Regions from separate parts of the Homo sapiens genome. Here region 1 is linked to region 2. The links are contacts of gene promoters, found by promoter capture Hi-C in blood cells and fetal thymus (Javierre and others, 2016). All regions are on one chromosome and are shown on one strand. Each heading gives the region's core, a stretch centred on a gene start or on the middle of the fragment in contact. The rest is flanking DNA. Distances are from core to core; before and after follow the strand shown.

The links. The method cuts DNA at HindIII sites, captures the fragments that hold promoters and counts their contacts. A CHiCAGO score of 5 or more calls a contact.
Region 1: a contact is called between the fragment with the promoter of STK39 here and the fragment with the promoter of TTC21B in region 2, in 1 of 17 cell types (activated CD4 T cells). The highest score is 5.1, in activated CD4 T cells.

Annotation. Positions count from the first base shown.
Region 1 is chr2:168,245,089-168,249,632 of GRCh38, reverse strand. It overlaps STK39 (serine/threonine kinase 39), which reads left to right and starts at 2,038. Exons shown (of 18, transcript NM_013233.3): 1 at 2,038-2,405. The coding sequence starts at 2,198. LOC107985959 (a long non-coding RNA gene) reads right to left here and starts at 1,672. Exons shown (of 5, transcript XR_007087282.1): 1 at 1,565-1,672. RefSeq lists silencers at 1,833-2,082, 2,293-2,342, 2,703-2,752, 2,843-2,932, 2,953-3,152. The HindIII fragment of the contact is 2,511 bases long and covers 1,222-3,732 here.
Region 2 is chr2:165,951,974-165,956,560 of GRCh38, reverse strand. It overlaps TTC21B (tetratricopeptide repeat domain 21B), which reads left to right and starts at 2,785. Exons shown (of 29, transcript NM_024753.5): 1 at 2,785-2,876. The coding sequence starts at 2,856. RefSeq lists an enhancer at 2,021-2,770 and a silencer at 2,535-2,934. The HindIII fragment of the contact is 9,565 bases long and covers 1-3,170 here.

The DNA.
Region 1 (4,544 bases), core at 789-3,288, 2.3 Mb before region 2:
TAGTAATGGATTTTCCGGGAAAAGTGCATATCAGTTGAATACTTCTAAAAAACATATATTTCTAAGTTTTAAGTACCATTTTACCCAATTGTTTACAGAAACATTAACTCTAATGCTTTTGTATAATTTTAAAATATTATTCATATTCTGTTCTTCATTTATAAAAATGATGCCAAAGAGCAATGCCAGGGGACATTCTTCTTTAAACCGATTTACTGTAGAAATGATGGATGTGCACTGAGTCATCCACTCAAGCAAGTCTTCATCCTGGTAGCCATTTGGAAAGCGGTTGACTAGAGACCGACATGTAGTCTGTGACTGGGGAACAGTTGCTTTTTGTGGGAGACTAATTGATCTGTGTTTGATTCAATTCTGTGATATTGATCTTGACGGCATCATGTTTTCCTACTAAGTCCCAAGAACATTCCTGGTCTTCATAATCCCACTTCATGGTTTGAAAGTCAAAAATAGAAATTCATATGACAAAATGGAAGTCATATTCATTTGATCATTTTTCTTTTCCTTTAAAAACAGTCCTTAAAAGTTCTTTGGGGTAGGGTGGAGGCAGCACTTGAAGAGGTCAGCAGCCATGGCTTGGTATAAAGAGCTCCCCTGTTCCTCAGAGGCCTAGAATTTGTTTATGAAGGGCTCTGTTTCTTGACAGACATGACAAGACACAGTTTTTGAAGTCCTCCGCATCAAAGAATGTACACTTAGTTCAGCATGAACTTCTGCTTCAAGACCAGAGCGAGGTAGCTGCTTTACTCCAACTTTTGTAATGCTCCAAGAGATTAAGTGCCCTCATCTTCAGTGGACATCAATGTTTTGATTAGACAACTAACTTTCCTAATAAATTTCTGGGCTTCTTCTGAATAATCTTTCAAAAATTTTAGTGAGATTTCTGTACATACACTCGGGAGACAAAATCATGATATCCCTAGAGTTTTTATTACATCCTCATTATTCTTACCTATTTCTTCAGCAGTCCTAGCAATGAGAACCAGACAAGATCATCTTGGCCAAACGACCAATACTATTGGTTTACTGCCCCGTTTCAGTTGGAGACAAGAACGGTGGATCCTGGTCACCTCCACGGAGGGAACACAGAGAACATTCACTGTTAAATATGACACCTATAATTAGGAAAACCTATGGTTTTACCATAGCAGTTTTACAGACGAGGTTATTTTTGGGGTGTTGAAAAAACAGCAATTAAAAGCTTCCAACACAGTTTATTCATGCCCCAATAAATTATTTCCCCACCAAGTATACGCTCTTAAAGAAACGCCTGATGTCTGGCCTCAGTGTCCTCACGGGCTAACGTGGCAATTATTAAGGGTGTAGAATTTGAGCAAACTTTCTAAACCTCTCCTGCATGTCTTATTCTAATTCCACAGCCCCTTAAATCGCCTCCCTGGGATCCAGGCGGCTTGGAAAAAATGAAGTCTGAACAGCCAGAGACCTAAGGAATCAAGTTTCATTTACTAAGAAAAACTAGAAGGACTGCGATTAGATTAGGCAAGGTGGGAAAGGGATACCGGCAAGTAAAGCGCCGGAAACTTACAACTTGGGTTATTTTCTAACTGGCGTCTTGCAAAGGGACACCATGTAGGTATCCCGCTCGTCAACTTGTAAATGAACTTCAGGTTCTCTTTGGTGGCAGGAGAATTCTGAATGTGAGAACCTGGCGGCCGTTCAACGACCCCGCCCTCGGGGTCCCCAGGGGGCGTCCTCCGGCAAGCCTGATCGTCTGGGGCCAAGGCGCAGGGCGAGCAGGGAGGGAGGAGGAGAACCAGGGCCGGTGGCCCCGAAAGCACACACAAAGCGGCCTGACTCCTTTGGTGGGAACTTCCCCGGCCGCCAGCGGAGCGGGAGCGGGAGGGGGCGGCGGAGAGGGGGGGCGGCGGTTCCCCTCGCCGAGGCGGAGAACAGCGCGCGCTAGGCTCTGGGCGCGCGGCGAGCGCAGCGGCCGCCGCCTCCTCCCTTCCCCGCCTCCGCCGGCGCTGCCTCCTCCCTCCGCCCAGCTCGGCCTCCCTTGCTCCCTCCCCTCCTAGCTGGCTTCGGCGGGGACGGCGGCGGCGGCGGCGGGCGGGGAGGGCGTGCGCCGGCCGAGAGGTGTCGGCGGCGAGGCAAAGGAAGTTTCAAGTGGAAGGTCGTCCGTCGGCCGGCGCGTCCTCCTGCTCTCCTCCGCAGCATCATGGCGGAGCCGAGCGGCTCGCCCGTGCACGTCCAGCTTCCCCAGCAGGCGGCCCCGGTGACAGCGGCGGCGGCGGCGGCCCCGGCGGCCGCGACAGCAGCGCCGGCCCCGGCAGCTCCCGCGGCCCCGGCCCCGGCCCCGGCCCCGGCGGCACAGGCTGTCGGCTGGCCCATCTGCAGGGACGCGTACGAGCTGCAGGAGGTTATCGGTCAGTGCGGCGGGCGCGGCGGGGCCGGCACAGGCCGGGCGCCGAGGCCGGGCGGGAGGGGGCGCGGGATGCTGGGCTAGCCTGCATGCACGCCCTGGAGGCAGAGAGGCCGGCTTCGGGGCCTACTGGCTTCAACAGTTTTTTTTTTTTTTTTTTTTTTTTTTTTAATTTTTAATGTATTTGTTCGTTCTATGAGCGTTGGTGCTGCAGGAGGCGGCGCGGCGGATGTGACTCGCACTGCAGACGAGCCGCATGCTGCAAACTTTTATCTCAGGGATCGCCGGGGCGGTGGAGCGGAGGACCAGGCGGCGCCGCCGCATCTTCCTCCCCCCGCGTGCCGGGACCGCAGCCCGTGGCCGGTGGCCACGCGGACAGGCAGCCGCGGGTGGGGTGTGGTTGCGGGGGCCCCGCCCTGGGTTTCCAGGGCCCCGGGGGCCGCGTCCTGGGGGACTCTGCGGGCGCAGCCGCTCCTCTGCCTCCCGTCGTGACCCTCTCGTCGTGGGTAACGGGGCCACGTAGAAGCCGCGGAGGCCCCAGTGCTTTTCTGAGGCCGGGGAGGATGCTGGCCTCTCTTCCTGACAGCCGCCACTCCACGCCCGCCTTGCAGCCCGGCTCTCCGCGCCACTCGGCGCGCCCGGGTACCCGCCTCCCTCCGTGCCAGGGTGCGCCGCCTGCCGCCCAGTCCGGCTCCCCGGGGAAAGCGGGTGCCCTGGCCTCCTGCCCTGCACCGGGCCGATGCTTCCCTCTGTTTCAGGCCGAGCTGCAAGAGTGAAATCCGAGGCTGCCGGTGATCTGCTCTCTGCCTTTCGTTGCCTTCTGGCCGGCTCACAAATATCACCTTATCTTACATTTTTAAATACCTGGCAGAGTCGCAGGGCTCGGCGTTACTTTTCCTTGGGCCAAGCACTTGAAGGGCCAGGAGATTTGTTTTGTCCCTTGACTTAGAACCTTCCCTATTGGATCATCCAGTTTGAGAGTCTTGTCACTTAGGGAAGCCTCCAGGTTAAGTGGGCCCTCAGCGTCTAACCTTACTGACGCAGGGATGGGATGTTGCCTTTCCAGAATCTTGGTATATAAGTACAGCGATGAAAAAGGAGTTCAGAATATTTATCTTAAGTATTTTTTCTAACTTTCACTTCAAAAAATTCTTCACCTCCTTTTAAAAAAATTAAAACAGATATAAAAATTTCACTAGGTGTTTAAATGAGCCTTTATCACCTGCTATTGGGGAATAAAACAGCATAGACGGAAATATATATATAAATATATACATAAAAATATGTGAGAAAATGTTGGGCAGGTCCGTAACCTAGGATATATACAAGCTTCAGATAACCTATAATAGGCATCTGTAGACAAAATTCTTTGAAAACCCAGATCTTTCATAATTTTTGACCAAAGACTCTAAAGGGATGAGTCTTCATGTCACTGCCTGAAATAGCTTCAGGGGCTTCTCAAAGCCTGGAATATTCCATGGAAACCTCTTTAACCTGGCATATAGGCCCTGTACCCTCAACCTGCCTGCCTCCTCCCATTGTCTACTCTTCAGTGATTGCTTCCTGAATACACCGCTGTCTTCCGCACATCTGGTCTTCCATTCTTTGCTGCCTTGCAGAGGCTCTTCCCTCCTGTGAGTGCCCATCTTTGTGTACTAAATCTCACTCCGCTTCCAAGGTGAGTGTGAATATTCCTTGAAAAGCCTTCTGCTTCTTTCAAGGCAAAATGCCGTGGTTTCTTCTGCCCCTCTTTTTACAGACCTCATAGCATGTAACCTCATAGTTGTTATTTGCGCAACAAGATCTGAAGGCCTGCTGTGTCCCAAGCATTGCCCCACTTGCTAGCAATATAGAAATTAACAAAAGTGATCCCTGCCCTAAGTTGTTAGGAGACATAGGGAAAGGATCCTATAGGATGTGATGAGTAAGTACTGGGAGAGCCCGAAGGAGGGAGTGACTGCCAGGAAAGAGAAGGAAGCAGAGTATTTCTTAGTAGAGGTCGTAGTTGAGCTGGGTTTTAAGTCTGAGTTTGTAAGGTGCTTAATTATTTCCACTGTTGCCTTCACTAACCAGCTGTGAACTCTGACAGGAAGAGGTGGGCCATAAAAGTTGAATAATGGTATCTGCCACATAATTCTCCATA
Region 2 (4,587 bases), core at 1,536-4,035:
TCTGTGGAAGGTTTGTTCTTTTGCTGTTTGCAATAAATCTTGTTGCTGCTCACTCTTTGGGTCTGCGTGCGTTTATGAACTGTAACACTCACCGCGAGGGTCCGCGGCTTTATTCTTGAAGTCAGCAAGACCAAGAACCCACCAATTCCGGACACATTAAGGTCTGAACGAAAATGACGTATTTCTGGAGACGAAGATGTTAACTGCTACATTATATTATCTAGCTTTATAGTGCTCATCATCTGGTAGAGAACATTAAACAAAAATGCACTATAACTAGTAATACAAGGACTATGCAAGTGTAATAAGTCTTATAGAGCAGGGGTCCCCAATCTGAGGACTGCAAATCAGTGCTACACAGCAGGATGGGGTATACAGCAGGACGGGGTACACAGCAGGAGGTGAGCTGCGGGGCAGGAAAGGGAGCGTTACCCCAAGCTCCACCTCCTTGTCAGATCAGCGAGGCATTAGATTCTCATACGAATGCAAACCCCATTATAAACTGTGCATGTGAAGGATCTAGGCTGTATGCTCCTTAGATAAGAATCTGATGATCTGAGATGGAATAGTTTCAACCCGAAACCATCTCCCCTACCCCTGTCCATGGAAAATTTATCTTCTGTGAATTGTCTTCCACCAAACTGGTCCCTGGTGCCAAAATGATTGGGGACCACTGCTATAGAGCACTACGTGTTTAATGGAAACTATTGGTTATACAATGCCTATTATGTGTCAGGAAGTTTTAATATGTCTGTAAGGCATTTAGTTTCTTTAGTAAATAAGGAAAATGAGGCTTAGGGAAATTACTTCCCCAAGTCACAAAAGTAGCTAGCGTAATAGGAGCTCCACCTCAGATGCAGAAGAGGGTATTCTTGCCACTACACTGTGATATTTTTATACCCATCCAGTTATGGTGATCCTTAAAGACTTCATGAAATTTGAAATGAACTCAGAAGAAGGAGATTTTCTCAGGTGAAGAAAGAGCTCAAAACAAAGTAGGGGAAAGCATTACCAGAAGAAGGAATATTTGTCCCACTGAGCGGAATAAAGGCTCCTTGAAGGGGAGGTAGAAGATAAGGCTTGAAAAGACGATGAGGTGAAGGGTCATGGATATCAGACTCAAAAGTTTGTAGCTAGTAAAAGTGAGCCGATAAAAATGTTACTGCTAAGGAACACATCGATTTTTCAGGAAAGACAAGAGTTTTTCCTGGCCTGAGATCCAAAATAAATTTCTTACATGAGATCTAGTAAGGGCACAGGGCACACCAAGTCACCGTGAGTGTCAAAGCAAATCTCAGAGTACTTTTAATCCAACAAACATTTATGAAACATCAGGCTTGGTGTTTTGTGCTAAATAATTCAACCTTAGAACAGAATTCAGTGAAGAGAATACGAGGCTAAATTAATATGACTTTCAAGATCTCCAAAAGGTAGGTTGATCATCTGTTCTGTTAACCATGATCCTGAGATATTTCCTTACAGATGAACTTTTCTCTTATAACCAAAGGTTTACAGTTCAAGATTATACACTTCATTGAGCACCCTGGTCCTGTGGTATTCTTTGCTGTATACCAAGTGCGGATTAATCCGCAGCTTTGAAAATCAAAGAGATATCACCAGTTGTTCATCACCACAGACATTTAGCTGGACTATAAATATTGGAAAGAAAAAAAAGTTGCTCGTGAAAATACGTGGTGAATTCCTTTAAAGAGAAACCGGTGAGAAATATTGCTTCACCTTAAAGCCTAGGATGGTAGCTACCGTTTTTCTCAAGACTGTCCTTACATAACCTATTGGCATGGGGAAAAAGTCAATGTTTATAAACTCCTTAAGAAACTTAAAATCTGGAAAAGGCAACTACGTATCATGTCAACTAAAGTAAGATAATTAACACTAGGATCAAAATTTGGAATCCACGTGAAAGATTCTGCAAAGATCACTTAAATCTCAGACCTTATGCACTATTTTAAATATTTATTTAAGCAGAAATAGAAAATCTTAGTCTATTATATTTCCATTTAATTTCCTGGACTTAAGAAATCTATGTGTGACTGATTGAGTTGCCTAATGGGGTGCAAACATAAAAATTTGCATTGGGATTCATTTTATTCTCAGTTTAAAATCAGTAGTATCATTGAAAACAAGACACTAATTTTCTGGAAGTTTAATTTATTTGTCCCTCTTATTATCGGGGCTGGTAAAAAAGGGCTAATTGAACACACATTCTAACAAAGATTGCAGCAACGCCTGCAAAGACGGGCCCAAGCGCACCGTATTTCTGTTAAGAACGTGTGATTTTTTTTTTCTGCGCCACCTTGTGGCCGTAAAACAACTTGCCCACGTGAAAGTTGACCGCTTTTTCCCGCGCCGGCAGAGCCTTGCTGAGAGCCGCACTGCGGGAATCCGCCTCCAGACAAACGTGCAGAAAATGGTGTCTTCCTTTACAACCAGTGACAGGAAACAGACTTCCCCTTCTTCATACTCCGTTTCCTTTATTCCTGAATTCCATTTCCTCGGCCCGCCCACCCACTGTCCTCAGACAGCCGTTTCCCAGTGTGACCTCCTTTTCCAGCTGCACTCTCCGGCGGAGGCCCTTTTCCCAGCCCGGACCCTCCCGGGCGGCCCTCGCAGCCCTCACCTCCGGGTCCCCGCCGCCCCTGCTCCATTACAGCACGATCCCCGCCACACAGGCCCGCCTCTCCCTCCGACAGCCAATCGCGGCGCGACCCCGCCCCTCCCGCTGGGGCCCGGGGCGCTAGAGCGCTCCGGGAGGCTAGGGGAGCTGAATTCTGCGTCTTCCTTTAGGCTGCGGCGAGACAATCCCCAGAGCCCCGCGGCCCGGCCTCGGGGCAGCCATGGACTCGCAGGAATTGAAGGTGAGCGGGTGAGCGGGTGAGCGGGTGAGCGGGCGGGCGGGCGGAGTTCCTTTGCGGCCTTTTGGCCCGGGGGCGCGGAGGGAGCTCGGGTGGCTTCGCTAGGCCGCTGTTTCCCTGCGGTGCCCCGGCTGCTCGGGTTGCGGGGTGGGCCTGCAGCCTCTGCTCACGGCCGGTCTCCGCGGGCCCTGCTGGGGAAGCCCAGGTCTGGGCAGCCCGCCCGCTCGGTGTTTCTGAATTGCTGGTCCCCATGCTGTTGGTTGTGTTTACTTTTGTATCATGTTTACTAGGAAAGCTTGGGTTACCTATGACACTGCGCCTCCGGGTGCGATTTTTAAGGACTTAAGGCAAACTAGTGTCAGCTCCCACACTGGACAGTAAAAAGAGCGCAGAAAGATTATATGAAACCCATTAAAGACGTAAGACTTAAAAGTGGAGGGGTCGTTATTTTAGGGTGATGGTCTTCTCTGTTTATCACTGACTCATTCATTCAGCAAATATTAATGACGGTCAACTTAAGAAAGGCTGATATAAAACAGTTAAAGACATGAGGCTTGAAAATAAAATAACTTTTCGGATGTTGGTCTTCTCTATTCATTTGTTCACTGAATCACTCGTTCAGCAAATATTTATGAAGGGTTACTGTATGTCCATTAGAAGCTGGAGATAGCAGTGAGCAAAACTGAACAGTTTCTGCCTTCTCAGATTTTACAGGCTAATTAATGCTGGGGAAAAACCCTAATTCAGTTGACTCAACAAATATTTACTGAATGCCTCCTATGTGTCTAGCACTGTTCTAAGCACTGAAATAATAAAACCAAGAAAAACTCTTCCAATCTTGGAGCTTACATTTGAGTAGGAGGAGTCAGACAACAAGTAGGTAAATGAAATGTGTATCCTGTGAGATGGTGATAAGTGGATGGAGGACAATTTGGCGATGTAGGAGGTTAGGGAATGCTGAAATGTCTTGTTTTTCTGCCTGAAGTTTTACATTATCCTCTGTTCTAGCTATCCCCCTATATCCTTACATTTTTTTATTCCCTTAAATGTATTATTTGCACTGCCACCCAAATGAACATTTTAATAAAAACACTTTAATGTAAAATGTAAAAATGGGCCTCCTCATTACTTAGACTTGAGGTTCAAGTCCAAGTACTTAATATGAGGCTTTTCACCCCACCTTCGTCTCCAACCTCATCATCCAATACTCTCTGTCTCACTTAAGCCTCCAGAGCAGAGAATAGCAAACTTTCTCAACAAAGGGCCAGATAGTACACATTTTAGACTTTATGGACCGTATGGTCTATCACATCTAATTGGCTTGTTCAAAACAGCCATAGACAATACTTAAATGAGCATGGCTGTGTTTCAATAAAACTTTATTTATGAACACTGAAATTTGACTTTCATGTAATTTTCATGTTATGAAATATTTCTTTTTTTTCCTTGACAGCTGGAAAATATAAAAACCATTCTTAGTTCACTGGCTGTACAGCCAGCCAGCCAGATATGGCCCACAGAGTGTGGTTTGCCAAACCCTGCTCTAGAGTATGGAGTGGCTTTTAGTCATCTTCATCACCACTGCCATCCCAATGTACCATTGATGACTTGTTATCTGTGTTGTTGCAGTTCCTCTTCCTAACTCCTGTACCTTCCTCAAGAATCATGAAAAGGAAATAGGAAGAGCGTGTACGTGTGTGGAGGGAGAATGAGG